2 separate regions of the Homo sapiens genome follow, and region 1 is linked to region 2. Evidence: promoter capture Hi-C in human tissues and cell types (Jung and others, 2019). All regions are on one chromosome and are shown on one strand. Each heading gives the region's core, a stretch centred on a gene start or on the middle of the fragment in contact. The rest is flanking DNA. Distances are from core to core; before and after follow the strand shown.

Region 1 (6,291 bases), core at 191-2,690, 1.2 Mb before region 2:
AAAATTTATGAAGAATATTCCAAAAACTATTATGTACTCTGGTATGCACCCTGGTTAAACTATCACTAGATATGTTTCCACTAAAGTAAATATTTTTTAAAGACTATTTCATAATAAACTTGAAAATCGTATAAATAACTGACAACAAGTTTTAAGAAATCACATGTTTGAAACTAAAGGATTCTAAATTTCTTTTCAGATTAAAGGCCAAGCCCCTAGAATGGCCTAAGCTAAAATCATTCTTAAAATTAACTTGATATTAAAGTTTAAAAGCACCATGATCACATTATAGAACTAGAAAATGGTTTCAGAAGCAATAAAATTATTACAGACTAAATAAAATGTAATGATATCTTTGAGGAATAATAAATTTTTTGTCTGAAAGTTTGTCTGTTAGAAAATTCTCTACCTGAAGTGAACATGTACAGCCAGAATTAGGAAACTATTCCAAACAGTATGGTTCATTTAACAGCCAAGCAAATGAAACCATTCAGCTGAGATTCCCAGAAAAAGCCTACATTCTAGACTAAGTTATCTGAGCTTACACAAGTAAAGACTTAAGAAAAAAGCCAACAGAAAAAAAAAAAAAGAGATCAATATATTCAATCAAAGAGAAAACTAAGCTGTAACAGTAAGATGTTAAATGTTAGCAACAAACAAGCTTCTGGAAGAAAGTATCTGCAAGCTGTGTGGAAACACCGTCTTCACTCAAACACACACAAAAGAATGTGTTGAATACATTTTCTGAAAGAAAGAACTTCAGGCCATGCGCAGTGGCACATGCCTGTAATCACAGCACTTTGGGAGGCCAAGGTGGGAGGATCACTTGAGGTCAGGAGTTCGAGACCAGCCTGGCCAACATGGTGAAACCCTGAATCTACTTAAAAAAAAAAAAAAAACACACACACACACACACACACACACACAAAAATTAGCCAGGCATGGTCGCGCACGCTTATAGTCCCAACTACTCGGGAGGCTGAGGCACGAGAATAGCTTGAATCCAGGAGGTGGAGGTTGCAGTGAGCCGAGATCGCACCACTGCACTCCAGACTGGGTGACAGAGTGAGACTCCATCTCAAAAAAAAAAAAAAAAAGTTCTGCAGCAGGATAGGTAAGAAAGCCCAGTGAGCATTTTCCTGAAACTCTGTCAAGTCTTCTAAAAGTCACTGACTCTATGCTGTATTCCATCTCAACTGAAGGAAACCAGCGGGACACAGGAGAGGAGCGGGGAGAACTGCAAAGGCCCCCACAGAAGCGGCTTGTCCACTGGAAACAACCCAGGATCCCTGTCCGTTGTCCCAGTTGTACAAAATTCAGTGACCATCCTCAAGGGAGGCAGCCTGATTTTAGTTAAAATCACTCTTCTGGATGCAAAACCATCTTTCCAAGAACGCTGGTTCTTCAAAACCATCACTCTGGGACAGAAAATGTTCTAGAAAATCAGCAAAAATAAGTAAAATCTTTGCTATTCTATGTCATTTTTCAGAGCGTAAAACAGTTAGCCAATGGTCCCTCTCTCATTCTCAAAAAATCCAAATGCACTCCAAAGGCCAGCCTGACAGCTGGAGAGACACACATGTGCTGCAGCAGCTCCTCCAGACAGTGCTCCCCGGCTGAATCCACAGCTCCAGCACTAGCTGCCATGGCACTTCATACAGCTCAGTGGTGGCATTTTCTGAAGTGTCTGTTATCCCCAATGACACCGTCACTCTGGGACAGTAATGTCTTCCCTCCTGGAGCAATGACTGGCAGATGCAGGATCAGCATCTCTACTGATGGCTTGAGAAGGAAACTGGCCAGTGGCTAAGAACGCATGACAGCACGGCTCTCACCCACACAGCTAACATGTGAGCCAAATCTCCCCACAGAACGTGATGCCATTATCCAACCCTCCCAAGTTCCTCAGCTTTGAAGCCAAATATCCCAAGGCTCAGAATGAGGAACTTGCCCAACATCACGGAATTATAAAGTGAAGAATTAACCTAGGCGGTGTGAGGCCCACGGGTGAGTCCTTAACCAATTAGGTAAACGGCTTCATTTATTTTCCATTTAAAGAAATGGTTTTAACTTTTCAGAAAACATTTAGTTTCAGTTACAACACAAAAACTGGCAAAACATTCCACAAAACTTTAGTTTAAATCTTGTCACAATAAATGCCATTAAAAGGACAGACTCTGTATGGCATAAAGATCTCTGAGTTCCTATTATATTGCCAACCATCTACACAACTTGATTCAATAAAATGCTAGTCATATAGAAAAATTACAGTTATCCCTTCGCAGCACCTTGTAATCACAGATACAAGACCCCCAGTAGAGGCCTGGAACCAGGAATACGGTTTCGGATATGGTTTTTCCTTTACATACATACCCATGATTAAGTTTAATTTATAAATTAGTTGTAAAAGATTAACAACTAATAATAAAATAGCACAATTATAACTGTAATAAAAGGTATGTGAATGTGGCATCTCTCTCTCAAAATATCTTCATATTTTCAGACTGCAAGTGACCATGGGTAACTGAAACCTCAGGAAGTGTAACTGCTGATGGGGGGACTGGTTTATAGTCACTCACTTAATGGCGATACGTCATCAGAAATGTGTCATGAGGCAATTCTGTCACTGCTCAAACATCATCGAGTGTATCTGCACACACATAGATGGTGTCGCCTACTACAAACCTAGGCTATATGGTATGTCCTATTGTTCCCAGGCTACAAACCCACACAGCATGACGCTGCACTGAATACCCCAGGCAACTGTAACATGTGACACATATCTAAACGTAGAAAAGGTGCAGCAAAGATATGGTATAAAGGATTAAAATGGCACACTTGCCTAGGGCACTTATAATGAATGGAGCCTGCAGGACTGGAAGCGGCTCTGGGTGAGTCAGTGAGTGAGTGGACCTAAAGGCCTAGGACCTGACTGGACGCTTTCATAAGACTGGTAGCGCAGTGGGTTCGTTTACAGCAGTATTACCACAAACATGTGACTAATGCATTGTGCTACGACATTACAATGGCTACAGCATCACTAGGTGATAAGAATTGTTCAGCTTCATCCTAATCTTCTAGGACCAAGGTCATTTATGCAGACTGTAGTTTATGCAGTCCGTCATTGGCCAAAACGCTTCTCTTCTCGTTTTTAATGTCATGGATACTACTTATATCGTAAAGGCAGAATTCTCAGAATGGTTGAACCCATCTGAGGACAGCCTCTATGAAAAAGCTGTGAACTGTCTGAAGATTCAGACCACATCACATCATGCTGATCAACAGATCATATGCTTTTCCTTGCTCAACTTCTTCCCCAAGCTTAAACTTCTGCTACTCTATACTCCCAGTCCAGTTCTGCTTTCTCTTCTGCACAGTGTGAATTGCCAAACACCAGAGCATTGCCTTCCACAACCTCTCTTCCCATACCCAACTGGTTTCCATGGAAATAATATCAAGTCCCTCAGCCGGCTCCTTCCCACTGGCTGCACTGTCCTTGCTATTTCTATGTAAGCAGCTTGTGAACTCTACAAACAAGGTCCACATCTATATTGTCTTCCTCAACTCAGATGCACACTCTCCTTTAATGAGACTACTCAGCTCAGCAGAGTCCAACAGTGACACAACTCAGAAACATTCTACAATCAAACCATCAGGCCCAGCAGGAAACGGGGAGCAGCAGAAGTCAAATACAAGGCAAATGACTTTAGAAGATCTCTGCTTTTAAAGCAAAGTCTGTGGCAGAAACATACCCTATTTTTTTAATTTAACAAGGGCAATTAATTTAACCATATAAACCAAGCACACAGTCGGAATCTTTCCCATAAAGAAAGCTCAGATACTGTTTTGCTCCTGACTGTAATCTCACTGCTTCTGCTGAAACTATCCTGGAGAACTGCAGTCAGTCCACGCCTGTTCAGAAGTACAGAGGTTCCATTTTAACCTCATTTGCTTGAAATTTCATAATATCCTGAAAGGTGTTGGCAGATTACCAATTAGAAGGAAGCACACAAGTAACAGACTGTCAGCTGGTTAACCCAGAGACAGGAAGGTGTTTCTACTTTCCTGCTACTGTTCCAGCAAGGGCCGCAATCGAAACCCACCCTGGTCCAGACGAAACCAATCGAGGGGCTGCAATGAAGAAGTCAATGTAGCCCCAGGCCGACACAGCTGCCTAGAGTTCAAAAAGCTTAAAACAGAGATGCAGAGCCATCTCCACTGAGTGAGTTCTAAATGTCTGTCCAAAAATGAAAAATAAAAAATTCAAAATACAATGTCATAGGGATACAGATATAGAATATCTTTAAACTGACATTGGTATCTTAATATGACACCTCTCAGAGTTTTCATATATGCCATCACTCAATGCTTGCAAAACCACAATAGCTTGCAAGATGTAATTTGGAGTTCTTTCCTTTTAAAAACAGCTAGCATCTAAAGTATGTAAAATTCTATGATCAAAATATATGGTATGCTCAATCTCTTAAAGAAAATAAATCTTAGAAAACTGGGTTCCTTCCCTTCAACACAAAACATCTCCATGAAGTATCACTCTGTCCCTTCCTCATTTATTGCCATATATCCAAACTCTTTTAAAATATATCTTAGTTTCCTCAGTCCCTGTGAATCTTGGGGTTATGCTAATGGTCATGTAACTATTAAACATTTTACTACTGGCCTGCAATTAATAAAGCAAGATAAAGGCAGGATGGGATCAGTAATAATAAAAGTAGGCACGTGTGAATCTGTAATTTGGTTTCCTTAAAAGACAGAAACCCAGTTGGTGACACATAAGTGAAATTCACATAACAAGATACATGGTCACTAGCTAGAGAAATGTTTCTCTGAGTCTACAGCAAGCAACAAATCTAACATGTTGGAGACAAAGAGAATGTGAAGTGTTTCCAACCTGAACATCCAAAAAAGATTCTCCTACTTTCGACATGCACGCAAGTCCTCTAACAGAGTATTCAAGAAATCACCTGGCTCACTACTGTCCCTCAACAGTATCAGACAGTGTTTCAGCTCATACATATCCAGCACAGTCACCTTCAGAAATCCAGACCAGTCTCCTTAACTAAGGAGAAAGGGAAAAAACAGCAAGGAAGAGGAGCAAGGAGGCAGGGTTCCCACACTGGACCTTGGGAGCAGAATGTCAAGAGCCTAAGGTAACCACTGTCGTCAACAACTTGCTGTTGCCTACACTAAAAGAGAAACAATCTGATTTGCATGAAGACTCCTACCCCGAGCTGAAGGCTGGGGAAGCACGTGAGTTTGACACAGCATGGCCAGAGCTTATATAGGAAGTACTTCACTTCCTATTCTAACAAACCCACAAAGCTGTGGACAAAGATACAGGGCCGACAAATACAAATAAATAGAAGCAGGGAAATGCCAAACGTCAGCCTTTGGTTTTCCCTGAGAGGTATGCAGGGTCTGGAAGGAAGCCCGGTGTATGGAGAGGGATCCGGCTGGAAGCCCTAAGTCAAACACGACATCTAAGTTGATGTCAGAGCCCAGGGAACCAGGGCAGGCAATGGGGACTGCGTAACAGAGGTCACCTGGAATAGAGAGGGGGCACGCTACCCTAAGAAAGGTGCCATGAAGGGCCTGGGCCAGATTCCTGCCCCAGCGCTGACTAACAAGCTGTGTGAGCCAGTCTCTCCCAGCTCAACTTCCTCGACAAAACTCAGCTAGCCTACAAGGTCATTGTGAGGAGAAAACCACCACCAGGAACACAGAGCTATCGAAACAGACTATGATCTAAAGCTTTCATTTGAATCCAGAGAGAGAGTTGGACTGCTTAAAAACTAAGTTTACAAAAAAAGGTGAGTTGGCTGGGGGCGGGGGGTGCCCTCTGAAAGGAGTGTCACATGACACTGGCAAGGAACTGGAGGGAGAGACGGGCAGGCCCCTGTCCGGAGGCATCTCCTAGGAGCTGATGAAGACAGAGACACACGCACTCAGACAAACACACTCACACACACACACTCAGACACACACACTTGCACTCACAGACACTCAGACACACACACTTGCACTCACACACTCGTGCACTCACACACGCACTCACGCACACATACACACTCAACTGCCTCCTGGGACCTCTCAGGACAAGGATGCCACTCTGGCCTGCCCGCCCTGCACCATCCACAACAGAGACAGGTGAGTCCAGAGCTTCCAGCAGAAGAGCAGCAGGGGAAACAGAACAAGGGCAAACACACCAGGGTGTGGCGTTCCCAGGAGGTGGGCAAGTGCCCTCCACAACAGAAAGCTACCACAAAAATGGCT
Region 2 (6,927 bases), core at 3,206-5,705:
ACATGGTGAAACCCCATCCCTACAAAAAATACAAAAACTAGCCCAGTGTGGTGGCGTCGCCTATAGTCCCAGCTACTTGGGTGAGGTGTGGGGATCTCTTGAGCCTGGGAGGTGGAGGTTGCAGTGAGCAGAGATCACACCACTGCACTCCAGCCTGGGTGACAGAGTGAGATCCTGTCTCAAAAATAAATAAAATACAATAAAATAAAAATTTCAGACCAATAAAGAGGTAGGAAGGAGGCTATAAAGGAAACCCGTGGACTACCAGGCACCTTAGTCAAGTATTACCAAGACAGTGGAAACCTCTATGCTTCTCTCACTGTGTCATCGCCCTATCCTCCAGATTTAGTCACCGTCTTGCATTTTCCCCCAAGGTTATTAAGGGTGGAAAATAACCCCAATCCTTGTTTTGCCAAGAGTACTCTTTATGTATTTCCCCACTGCCTACTGACTGTTCTTTTGAAGTGACTACAGCTAGATAGAGCTTTGGTCACTTTTTTGTTACTGGTTGAGATTAACCCGGCACCAGTGTGGAGACAGGCTCCAAGGTGATTTGATAGAAATCTCCTGTATCAGTGGATGTGACTGTTCTGGGTACAATGGTTCTAGTCCGTGACACTGTTCTGAGCTTCCGGGAGGGCTGCCCTTCCTCACTTTAGTTTTAACCTTGTCTGAAGAACTCCCAGGAAATTACCAACAGCCCTTCACCAGGCTCAAGAGGCAGACTTAGGATTACCCTTCTCTAGCTGAAAAACTGGAAAATGGAAACCCGGCAATGAAGGGTCATTCAAGGTCTTATACCTAAACTAACAGCAGGGAAGTTTCCAGTAGTCCTGGCTCCAGTGTTTCCTCACTTCCTTCCAAGGCACTGAGTATCATATATTAACAAAAGGATGACTTTCAAACACAAGGAACAGCTTCACAAATGAGGGCTAAAAGGAGAGGCAAGTGAAATATGCGTCAAGGTCCTGCCACATCCTAAGTCAGTTGTTCTCAAATTGTGGTGTACATCATCAAAACCACGTGGGGACTTGTTAAAGAAACAGATTCCCAGGGGCTGCCTGAGACTTAGTCTTAGTGAGCCATAAGTCCTGGAGAAGGGCACTATGAGTGATTCTAATGCATATTCAAGTTTCAACACAGCTGGAGTTGAGTCTTCTGTGTGTGTGCTGGGGGCAGGGGTTTAGGTTCCAAACCCTGATGAAAATAAATTACCCTTAGAAAATCTTAAAACATTCATAAGATACACTGTAAGTGTTTCCTTGGTGGGCAGAACAGTACAGTAACATGTAAATGCTATGTTGTCATACTTACAGTAATGTAAGATACATGATAAGGAATGCATGTACAAATATGACTTTATACTATTTTAACTTATGTAAGAAAGATTATATAGCATCCCTCTGTATCCACAGGGGATTGGTTCCAAGACCTCTGAGGATACCAAAATTCTCCAATGATCAAGTTCCTGACATAAAAGGGTACAGTATTTGCATATAATGTACAAAATCCTCCTGTATATCTTAAATCATCTCCAGATTACTTATAATATGTAATATAATGTAAATACTTGTTATACTATATTCTGTATTGGATTTTTATTGGTATTTTAATTGTAGTATTATTTTTATTATTTTCCAAATCTTTTCCATCCAAGGTTGGCTGATTCCATGAATGTAGAACCTACAAATACAGAGGGCTAATTGTACATAAAAGTTGAGTGAGTCAAATGCTCATATGATATGATTCAGTGACACAAGAATACCATGAAATACATATTATCCTTTCCATTTTACAGATGAAGAGATGGATGCTCAGTCAGGTTGACAGACTTGCCCGAACGGACCAGGTTGGTCAGTTTGCAGGAAGCAGAATTCAGACTTAGCTCTGTTTGCCTCAAAAACCTGCCATCGTTTCATTTTTATTTTATTTTATTTATTTTTTGAGACAGAGTTTCGCTGTTGTTGCCCAGGCTAGAATGCAATGGTGCGATCTCAGCTCACTGCAACCTCTGCCTCACGGTTGGTTTCAAGTGATTCTCCTGCTTCAGGCTCCCGAGTAGCTGGGGTTACAGGCGTGCACCACCATGCCCATCTAATTTTTTGTATTTTTAGTAGAGATGGGGTTTCCCCACGTTGGCCAGGCTGGTCTCGAACTCCTGACCTCAGGTGATCTGCTCGCCTCAGCCTCCCAAAGTGCTGGGATTACAGGCTTGAATCATCGCACCTGGCCGTTTCATTTTTACCACACTGCCACAGGCCACTTCATTTTTTGGCATTCCCCTAAAGGGTAAAGTTCAGAAATGCTCTTCAAGGTCTTGGGGCACCGCTATTTCAAACATTCAATTTAGAAGACAGTATACTTCAAATGGAGCGAGATAAAAATTAGATTAGAGGCATATCCTATTATGAGAGTTGGGAACCCAAACTGGCTAACCAGGCTCCAGGCAGTGATAAGGCAGTGGAGGTATTGATGTCCAGTTGGAAACATTATCAGTGCAGGTAATTTAAATATCTTTCATAGTTTTCTTTCTACTGCAGTTACCATTATATCTTCATTTTATTTATTTATTTATTTATTTTTGAGACGGAGTTTCACTCTTGTTGCCCAGGCTGGAGTGCAATGGTGCGATCTTAGCTCACTGCAAGCTCTGCCTCCCGGGTTCACACCATTCTCCTGCCTCAGCTTCCCGAGTAGCTGGGACTACAGGCGTGCGCCACCACACCCAGCTAATTCTGTATTTTTAGTAGAGACGGGGTTTCTCCATGTTGGTCAGGCTGGTCTTGAACTCCTGACCTCAGGTGTTCCACCTGCCTCGGCCTCCCAAAGTGCTGGGATTACAGGCATGAGCCACAGCGCCCGGCCTATAACTTCATTTTAATAAAAAAGAAATTCAGGCCAGGAGTGATGGCTCACGCCTGTAATCCTAGCACTTTGGGAGGCCGAGGTGAGCAGATCACCTGAGGTCAGGAGTTCAAAACCAGCCTGGCCAACATGGTGAAACCCCGTCTCTACTAAAAATACAAAAATTTAGCTGGGCTTGGTGGCGGGTGTCTGTAATCCCAGCTACTCAAGAGGCTGAGGCAGGAGAATTGCTTGAACCTGGGAGATGGAGGTTGCAATGAGCTGAGATTGCGCCAATGCACTCCAGCCTGGGCAAGAAGAGCAAAACTCCGTCTAAAAAAAAAAGGGAAAGAAAAGTTCAGTCTTTCAGAGGGAATACACTTACCTGAATAGAGGTCAAAATCTCAGAAGAGGCCTCCCTCCTCTCTCTGACCTCTGAAATGCCCTGGATCTGCAAGTGGGAGATAACAGGCCCTGACAAAGGGTTGCCCAAACAGCAGTGTGTCCCTAGGAAGACAGGTTAAGCATCAATTACTATGAGGCTAGCACGAGTTAAGCATTCCACATGCACGATCTCATTTAATCCTTACAAGTCTATGTAGGTGGGGCTACTAGTATGTTCACTCAACAAATTGGGAAACAGAGTTTGGAACTTCGCCCAAAGTCATTGGTTTCTCTTTCTACCAGGATAGATTTAAGTGCTTACTAAGTGTCAGGTACTGTTCCAGGCATCGTACATGTACTAACTCATTATCCTCATTAGAACCCTCTGATACAGGTGCCATAATTATGCCGCTTTACAAACAAGAAAACTAAAAGCAGAAAGGGAGGAGTAAACCCAGGAGAGGAATTCAGGAGAAGCTCTGGTCTCAACCTTTAGCCAACATCACAATCACCCGAAGGGCTTGTAACACACTGATTGCTGGGCTCAGCCCTAGAGTTTCTGAATCCTAAGGCTGAGCAACACCTAATTTCCACTTATGCAAGTTCCCAGTGAATGCTGTTGCTGCTCGTCTGGAAGCCAGACGTTGAGAACCCCTTCTAGAGTGAGCTCTCCCGCAGCAAATTCTACTGGCCCCCAAAGTATGTGTTTTGTGTGTCTTAAAAATTTGTTGAGAACCATTAGCAAAAAAACAAACAAAAAAACTTAATTCCTAGAATTTCAGAGAAATCCCATGGAGCTTTTTGCCAGTCACGTCAAAAGAGGCCACAAACGTGCCACTTAACCAGAGCTTCGGAAAGGCGGCGGCTGGGCCGGCCACGTGCACCGAGACTCGGGGCCAGGTGCAGCCGCCCCAGGGCCGAGGCCTCGGAACTGGCCCCCGGTCCCGGCCCCAAGCGGTCCAGCGATTCCCCCAAGCCGTCCGCCCCTCCAGATTTATTTACGTTTTCCTGACTTCCCCCTGCCCGCTGTGGGACAAACAGCCTCCCCACTTGCATCTGCGAGGGGAGTAGCGCGCACTTCCGCCAAGTTCCGCCCCCACCCAGCCCGAGGCCCGGCTGCCGCCATCTTGCGGGGGGCGCACCTCACAGGTCGGGAGCTGGGCGGGAAGGGGCGTGGTCCCGGGACCCGCCCCGCCGGGGCTTTTGGGAGCGCGGGCAGCGAGCGCACTCGGCGGACGCAAGGGCGGCGGGGAGCACACGGAGCACTGCAGGCGCCGGGTGAGGCGTGCGGCGGCCGGGGTCGGGACGGGGGTTCTGGGCGGGGGGTTCCTGGTGGAGGGCCCGGGCGGGCGGCGGGGTTCGGCGGCAGGTGCGGCGGGCAGCCTAGGGGGCGCGGCGCGGGGTTCTCGCCCGGCACCCCCGGGGCAGGTGGAGCTGAGCCGGCCCGCGGCCCCGCGACCTTCCCCTCGGCGCCGGGTCCCCTCAGGTCTCTCCCGAAGGAAACGCGGAGCCTGGGTGCCTGGGCGCCGTCCCTCGGCGGCTCCCGAGCGGTTGCAGTTTTTGAAAGAGTTTCTCAAAGGCTTGACGGTTGTGACTGCAGCCGCGGGGCAACGGTTGCTACACAAAGTGAAACTTGCCGAGTGCTCGGCTTCTCACGGGCTTCCTGGCAGCCCCGGGAAGTTCCTCGGCGGACCCCGAGCCCGCGCCCCCTCTCCACGGATCCCTCCCCAGCGAGTGCCCCCCCGCCCGCCCTGTGCCCCCTCTCCCCTGACCCCTCCCTGTCGGGTGCCCCGCGGGCTCGCGCTGGCTGTCCCGGGACTCCTTCCTCCTAGGTGTTCCTCCTGCCCCTCGCCCTCTCTCTCCCAGGCGCGCGCTCCCTCTCCCCGGGCCTTTCCCCGCCGGGTATCCCTGGGCCCGCGCCCCCTCTTCTCCGCCTCTCTCCGCTGGGTGCACCTCGAGTGTCCCCCAGACCCCTCCCCGCCCGGCCGGCGCTCTCTCCCCTGACCCTCCTGGCCGAGTGTTCCCCGGGGCCCGCGCCCCCTCCCCCCGATCCTCCCCACTGAGTGTTCCCCCTGCCCTCTCTCTCCCGGGCCTGCGCCCCCCACCAGCCCCTTCATGCTGGGGGTCCCCTGGGTGCGCACCCCCTCTCCTCGGACCCACCCCCAACTGGGGGGCACCTCCAGTGCCCGCCGGCTGCCCCTTGGGCGCGCGCCCCCGCTCTCGGGCGCCTCCTCGCCGGGGGCCCGGCCCGGCCCCGCCCCGCCCGTGCCCCCTCCCCATGCCCGCAGTGCTGGGCGGGGCGCTGACTCACCCGGGCCCGGGCTGGCCGGTTCTTAAGCGGCAGCGCGCTGCGGGCGCCGAGTGTCGGGCGCGGCAGGAGGACGAGGCAGGGCGGGCGGGCGCTCTAAGGGTTCTGCTCTGACTCCAGGTTGGGACAGCGTCTTCGCTGCTGCTGGATAGTCGTGTTTTCGGGGATCGAGGATACTCACCAGAAACCGAAAATGCCGAAACCAGTAAGTTGCCCAGTTTCTGGGCCGGGCGGACGGGAGAGGCTTCATTGGAGAGGGGAGGCACCTGCTCGAGGTGTTGGGGCAGTTCCTGGGGAACAGGGTTCTTCTCACACGCAGAAGACGATAGGAATAGGAGGAGGTTTTCGCCGCTCTTTGTTACTTGTTGACCCTTTTGTGGAGCGTTAGGAAAACACCATTTTGATGCTTTTCTCTGCAGTCTTTTTCTTTGTGAGCCCCCTCCCCAGTAGTTACGGTCTTTTCTAAAAACTAGAGGCCTTTTTACACTGCTTCCGTCTGTTTTTAAAGGGTATAGTAATACAACTTAGAAGTTTCTTAAAAAGTCCAAATCACAGGGAGACTCAGATGGCTTCCGACCACACACACCAGTTCTCAGAGCTCCTAAGGGTCCGAAACCACAGGCGCCCCAGATCCAACTGGGGAGATATTAAAGGGCGTTTGGGAGAGGAGACTGGCTTTCGGAAGTTGCCTTTCAGCTTCGCTTCCTACTAGGCCCATGAAGCGGTGCCCTGTACACCAGCAAACTTGCTGGCTGCAGCAGAATTTCTGTCTCTAACAGAAGGTTAGCCATGGACTTGAATTGTAGATGCAGGCAGCCGGTGGAGTTTGATAAGAGGTTCCTGGCAGGCCGGGCCGAGCACTCCTGGTCAGCTGATGAAAGGGCTGTGCCTGCGCCTCTGTCTCCTTGAATCTGATTGTGTTGAGATTGCTGGCGAGACCTGGGGGTTGTAGGCACAAGGCAGGTTCTCTGGGACTGACGCTTCTTAGAAAGTTGTATGTATTCTACCTGCTTTTAACACTGGGGAACTGGTGACTAGACATTAGGGGGAAGGTTTAACATTTTTTGAGTTTTGAATCACAATGGACAAAATATCAGGATTCATTACAAATTGGGATTACAGATACATCTGGAATTTTTTTTTGGTTTTTCAAACAAGTTGGTTCTGTAATCAATGCTTGTGTGCCTTTTGTGGGGGATGGGGGAGCGGAGTCTCTCTCTGTGGCCCAGGCTGGAGTGCAGTGGCATGATCTCGGCTCACTGCAACCTCTGCCTCTCAGGTTCAAGCGAATCTCCTGCCTCAGCCTCCCGAGTAGTTGGGATTACAGGCATGTGCCACCATGCCCAGCTGGTTTTTGTATTTTTATAGAGAGGGGGTTTCACCATGTTGGC

Evidence for each region. The method cuts DNA at HindIII sites, captures the fragments that hold promoters and counts their contacts. A contact is called where the count stands out against the background at its distance.
Region 1: a contact is called between a fragment that was not itself captured here and the fragment with the promoter of EZR in region 2, in 1 of the 25 tissues and cell types used here (hippocampus).

Annotation. Positions count from the first base shown.
Region 1 is chr6:159,981,039-159,987,329 of GRCh38, reverse strand. The region is part of intron 1 of IGF2R (insulin like growth factor 2 receptor); the gene reads right to left. Among named protein-coding and RNA genes, the nearest start is that of IGF2R, 15 kb to the right of the region's middle. RefSeq lists silencers at 2,539-2,833, 3,839-4,133 and enhancers at 4,012-4,251, 4,999-5,168, 5,359-5,468, 5,479-5,528. The HindIII fragment of the contact is 7,078 bases long and covers 1-4,979 here.
Region 2 is chr6:158,816,896-158,823,822 of GRCh38, reverse strand. It overlaps EZR (ezrin), which reads left to right and starts at 4,455. Exons shown (of 14, transcript NM_001111077.2): 1 at 4,455-4,506; 2 at 5,657-5,741. The coding sequence starts at 5,730. It overlaps EZR-AS1 (EZR antisense RNA 1), which reads right to left and starts at 5,844. Exons shown (of 3, transcript NR_102425.1): 1 at 5,718-5,844; 2 at 3,230-3,351; 3 at 1,584-1,683. RefSeq lists enhancers at 2,201-2,300, 5,822-5,871, 6,354-6,523 and silencers at 4,172-4,221, 4,282-5,271, 5,412-5,611. The HindIII fragment of the contact is 16,325 bases long and covers 1-6,927 here.